Linked DNA regions of Homo sapiens: region 1 is linked to region 2. The links are contacts of gene promoters, found by promoter capture Hi-C in blood cells and fetal thymus (Javierre and others, 2016). All regions are on one chromosome and are shown on one strand. The core of a region is centred on a gene start or on the middle of the fragment in contact, and the rest is flanking DNA. Distances in the headings are between cores, read along the strand shown.

Region 1 (2,867 bases), core at 172-2,671, 120 kb before region 2:
GAAAACCTGAGTCCTGTCACTTACCTTAAGTGGGTGTTCAGTGCAGGCTCTTGCCAGGGCAGGATGTAGCCCCCACGGACATGAAGATTAATGTGGTCAAGAGGGGCTGGCAAGGTCTTCCACTCTCCTCTTGCATTAATATCCACACCCTGGAGGCAGAAGAAGGTAAGAGATGACTAAGGAGAGGACAGGCCCCTCCCTGAACAATGCATCCTGCCAGACATCTCATCCTCCCTTCTGAACTTATGCCTGCTCATCACCCTTTGCAACATACCTGCCATTACCCATTCTGCATTCACCCAGTGCTGCAAGAAATCTTGCAAGGCTGCTATAATATCTTGTTAGGGTCTCTTGCCTTTGCTTCCACTGTACAAACTACATTTGCCTGATGTGTGACAGGAAGAGGTGCTACTCTCTCACCTGTATCAGAACCTAAGGGACCATGCTTCCATCCTACATGTTCTCAACTAGAGCAGGGCTTTTCAGTCTCAGCACTATTGAGATTTGGGGCCAGACAATTCTCTGGCGATGGGGCTATCCTGTGCCTTTTGATATTTAGCAGAATCCTCGGATGTCAGCCGCATCACCTCCTCACCCCCACTCTGTTGTGACAACCAAAAATATCTCCAGGCATTGCCAAATGTCCCCTGGTAGGCAAAATCCTCTCATTTCAGAGCTGCTACTTTACAGGTAAGAAGCAGTTATTGTTGACAACAAGCGAACAAATATGCATGGCTGTGTTCCAATAAAACTTTATTTGCAAATCAGCTAACAACCAGATTTGGCTGTGGGCCATAGTTTTTGCCAGCTTGTGCTCTAGAATGAGTAATAGTTACCCAAACTTGGGAAGATTAATTAAGGTGACACTTCTTCATTAATATTAACTATGAAATTCATCTTCATTTTAATTAAACATCAAAATTTCATCTTTTTCTAAATAGCTTGCTCCATGATTTCTTTTGTCTTTTCCTCTTCAACCAAAGACATCTTCTGTTAGTGAATGGGAGACTCAACATGCACACTCAGGACAAAGGCCAGTCTCACGTAAAGAAAGCTGGCCACCTCTTCCTGGGAAACGCCTGGCTGGGACACACATAGCAGAGCCTTAACATGTTACCACCCTAAGGGCAGATCCAGACTAGCAGCAGGAAGAGGAGTCTGGGGCTGTGGAGAGGACTTGGGCTCCAATGGACTGAGAAGAGAAGGAACAAAATGCACATCCTTCTCCAGTTTTCACCTAATCTCACTGCAATCCCCTTGGATGAAAGGGGCCAGCACATGCTCTGCTTCCTGTATCCCTGCTTGTACCCCTTTGCTGTATTTCCAGCCCTCAACGATGTTCTCCTCAGAAAGTCAGAAGAGGCCCCATTAGAGACCAAGGAAATGCCTTCTTTGATTCTTCCCCAAGAATCAGGGTCTGACTTGTCAGGGTCCCAGCAAGAGCCCACCACCCCAGAGCTGCCCGGGAAGACCCTGGCTTCCCAGATAAGTCTTTGGGGAACATAATAGCACAGAAACTATGCGGCAAGGAGCTCTTCATTGCTTCCTCATTTCTAAATGCACTTGCACTGCTTAGACTCACAAGGGTTGGGTCCCATACCTCTGTGTGTGTTTTGCACATTGCCTAATCACTTGCTTACCTTAGGTAATTATGTGCAGTGCCCTTCTTTGAGCATCTATGCTATGGAAGGAGATATTTAATAAAAAGACAGAGACAAAAAGGCCTCTATGCTTACAAACTTACAGCAGGTAAAGATATAAACATTAAAAACAAAAACTATAGTTTGCAACACAATCTCAAAAGCATCTGCCTTTACAAAACATTGTAAATAGCAGTGATATAAGAAAATATTAAAAATTAACACAAAGAGAACACCCACGAAAAACCTGAGTGAGATGCTTTATGTGTCATTTCACAACAGTTCTATGAGGGAAGTGGTCTTACTCCACTTGGAGGTGAGAAAACCGAGGTTACAAGGGTTAAAGTGGCTTCTCTAAGACCACACAGCAGGTGGGTTACAGAGCCAGCATTTGACCTAAGGTCTATCAGATCTAAAGCCTTTGTACTCTCTACCATTTTCCCGTGTTGTATAAACATTCAGAAAAACTTACCGTGTAGTAATCATACCAGCGGGCTCTAGGGAAATATGCAGTGACATTTCTGGCATTCTAAAATGAAACATAAACAAGGTGTGGCAGTGGCACCATTTTCCAGGACAGAGAAACCAAAATACTTAGGAAAGAGGTTAAATAATTGTGATGGCCTTGGGCCCACTTGCCTCATGTCCCAGGAGGTCACCTATTGAGGAAACCTTCCATCCCTTTTCCTTTTTCAAACAGGAGAGATCTGTCTACCCCAAAACAAGTGGCTTTCATAAAGCACTTTGGTACCCAGGACTTCGGGAAAAAAAAAAATTCACTATTTGCTTATAGAAATAGGCTTACGCCATTCCCTCTTAAAGAGACAAACAACTGAGGTTGTGTCTGGGGCAGAAAAAAATTCTGTGGGTACCATAAGATTTGCGGGCTGGACACGGTGGCTCACGTCTGTCATCTCAGCACTTTGGGAGGCCGAGTCAGGCGGATCATGAGGTCAGGAGATCAAGACCATCCTGACTAACATGGTGGAATGCTGTTTCTACTAAAAATAAAAAAAAAAATTTAAATTGGCCGGGCCTGGTGGCACGTGCCTGTAGTCCTAGCTACTCGGCAGGTTGAGGCAGGAGAATCACTTGAACCTGGGAGGCAGAGGTTGCACTGAGCTGACATAGCACCACTGCACTCCAGCCTGGATGACAGAGTGAGACTCTGTCTCAAAAAAAAAAAAAAAAAGATTTTGGGAAGGTGCAATTAACTGGTATTTTAAT
Region 2 (2,968 bases), core at 118-2,617:
ACTGTATAGTTATATATCTCTGCTTGTGCAGTAGAGCAAGTTTCTACCTAGACTTTTTAGGGAGGCAAACATCTTTTCTAAACACCTTTAGTGCAACACCGCCACCTGGTGTGGTGAAGACAAGGAGAAAATTAGCTTAAGTTGAAAGTGCAGAATTCTGTGTTTGACACTCTGTAAGCATGAATGACCCAAATGAAGTGGTCACAAACACAATTAATTAAATACAACTGCTACATCATGATGCACAAATAAGGACTACATAAATATCTGCGTATGAACAGTTCAGAATAAAACAAAAGTGAACATCTTTAGTAATCACTGACTTATGTCACTACTAATAATAAAAAAGGAGCTTTAGTCAAAAGAAAACATAAAAAATACAAAGAGAAAGTATCGAAAAACACCAATGGGGCAGCACCAATAACTCTTAAAGGATTTATCGGGGGAAATTCACTCATAAGTGGCAGTTGAACAATGAGAACACATGGACACAGGGAGGGGAACATCAAACACCAGGGCCTGTCAGGGGGTAGGGGGCAAGGGGAAGGAGACCATTAGGAGAAATACCTAATATAGATAACGGGTTGATGGGTGCAGCGAACCACCATGGCAGGTGTATGCCTATGTAACAAGCCTGCATGTTCTGCACATGTACCCCAGAACTTATACTAATTAAAAAATAAACATAATAATAATCCAAACCAGCTATGCCCCCTTTCCTCTCCCTTCATGACAGCGTGCTAGTCTTGTTCATGTTAATATTCTCCTTGCCAGGCACAGTGCCTGGCATAATAATGATGATTGCATGAAACCTTTGGCAACAGCAAATAAAACTGCAATCATACACTGACACATGGAAAGGAACCATGCATTTATCTATATTAAAAACACAGTCTGTGATAAGAGTCATTACTTCACAGATGAGAGAAGGAATGCAAATGAAAAGAGACTCTATTTCAAACCTTAGATCACCAAGAATATCTGCTTTGCCTGCTGCAGGGTGCCTCAAAACCCATAAGCAAATCCTGTTCTCTTCGCCACCCCCACAGGTCCAGATGGGCATGCAAAACTGGATTGGGGAAATTGAGGCCCTGTTTTGTTTGCATCCGTGATGCTGTGCTATGGCCTTCTGGGAAGGCGGTTGTACAGGAACACCTGGATTTATTAATCTTGCATCACCCAAGAGGTAGAACCATCAGTCTTCCACCCTATGATAAGCTCTTACGTGTATCCAAGAGATGTTCTAGAGAAACAACATCCCTCTAAGTTTCCTGCCAGAACTTTTTATGCGCTCGCTTTGGGATAGATCTAGGCAAAGAGCTGGATGCTTTGTGAAGGAAAGGTCCTGGCTTGGAACGTACATTTACCTTTCTGCACTGGGTGGCAACCAGGTCTTTAGATTAGCCAACTAGAGAAGAGAAGTAGAATAGCCAATTAGAGAAGTGACATCATGTTGACTCTAACTCGCATCCGCACTGTGTCCTATGAAGTCAGGAGTACATTTCTGTTCATTTCAGTCCTGGAGTTTGCAGTGGGGTTTCTGACCAATGCCTTCGTTTTCTTGGTGAATTTTTGGGATGTAGTGAAGAGGCAGGCACTGAGCAACAGTGATTGTGTGCTGCTGTGTCTCAGCATCAGCCGGCTTTTCCTGCATGGACTGCTGTTCCTGAGTGCTATCCAGCTTACCCACTTCCAGAAGTTGAGTGAACCACTGAACCACAGCTACCAAGCCATCATCATGCTATGGATGATTGCAAACCAAGCCAACCTCTGGCTTGCTGCCTGCCTCAGCCTGCTTTACTGCTCCAAGCTCATCCGTTTCTCTCACACCTTCCTGATCTGCTTGGCAAGCTGGGTCTCCAGGAAGATCTCCCAGATGCTCCTGGGTATTATTCTTTGCTCCTGCATCTGCACTGTCCTCTGTGTTTGGTGCTTTTTTAGCAGACCTCACTTCACAGTCACAACTGTGCTATTCATGAATAACAATACAAGGCTCAACTGGCAGATTAAAGATCTCAATTTATTTTATTCCTTTCTCTTCTGCTATCTGTGGTCTGTGCCTCCTTTCCTATTGTTTCTGGTTTCTTCTGGGATGCTGACTGTCTCCCTGGGAAGGCACATGAGGACAATGAAGGTCTATACCAGAAACTCTCGTGACCCCAGCCTGGAGGCCCACATTAAAGCCCTCAAGTCTCTTGTCTCCTTTTTCTGCTTCTTTGTGATATCATCCTGTGCTGCCTTCATCTCTGTGCCCCTACTGATTCTGTGGCGCGACAAAATAGGGGTGATGGTTTGTGTTGGGATAATGGCAGCTTGTCCCTCTGGGCATGCAGCCATCCTGATCTCAGGCAATGCCAAGTTGAGGAGAGCTGTGATGACCATTCTGCTCTGGGCTCAGAGCAGCCTGAAGGTAAGAGCCGACCACAAGGCAGATTCCCGGACACTGTGCTGAGAATGGACATGAAATGAGCTCTTCATTAATACGCCTGTGAGTCTTCATAAATATGCCTCTGATTCTTCAGGAATACAACTCTGATTCCTCACAAAGCCTTCCAATTTCTTCTATAAAACACAATTGAAAGTCTCTCCACTTTGTATCAATGAACTCACTTATAGATGAATAAAATAATTAAGCACTATACATGGCCTAGGCAAGAATAATGTTGGTACCCTAGGTTTGTTTTGATAAAATGAACAAAATAATTAAGTATTTGGTGTAAATCCTTTATATACTATAGCTTATTATTGGTATAAATCAAACCATGAGAAATCATCTCTTCTGAAATAATATCTAAATCCCAAGATAATATGTTTGGCTTTTAACATGACTGTTAAACCTCTTTCTCGGAACTTGTGCTAGCATCATTTTTGGAAATATTCACTACTACAATAAGGATATAATCCTCTTCAAACTTCGCAATTTTCATGGAAACAAAGACAAACTTGGAATGATAATTATGTCATAATT

Evidence for each region. Contacts are between HindIII fragments. The CHiCAGO score rates a contact against its expected background, and 5 or more counts as called.
Region 1: a fragment that was not itself captured here is called in contact with the fragment with the promoter of TAS2R38 in region 2 in 1 of 17 cell types (neutrophils); the score reaches 8.0 in neutrophils.

What each region holds. Positions count from the first base shown.
Region 1 is chr7:142,096,895-142,099,761 of GRCh38, reverse strand. MGAM (maltase-glucoamylase) reads right to left here. Exons shown (of 71, transcript NM_001365693.1): 66 at 2,113-2,169; 67 at 25-149. Among named protein-coding and RNA genes, the nearest start is that of MGAM2, 13 kb to the left of the region's middle. The HindIII fragment of the contact is 6,332 bases long and covers 1-2,867 here.
Region 2 is chr7:141,972,172-141,975,139 of GRCh38, reverse strand. It overlaps TAS2R38 (taste 2 receptor member 38), which reads left to right and starts at 1,367. Exons shown (of 1, transcript NM_176817.5): 1 at 1,367-2,509. The coding sequence starts at 1,451. The coding sequence ends at 2,452. The HindIII fragment of the contact is 7,298 bases long and covers 1-2,968 here.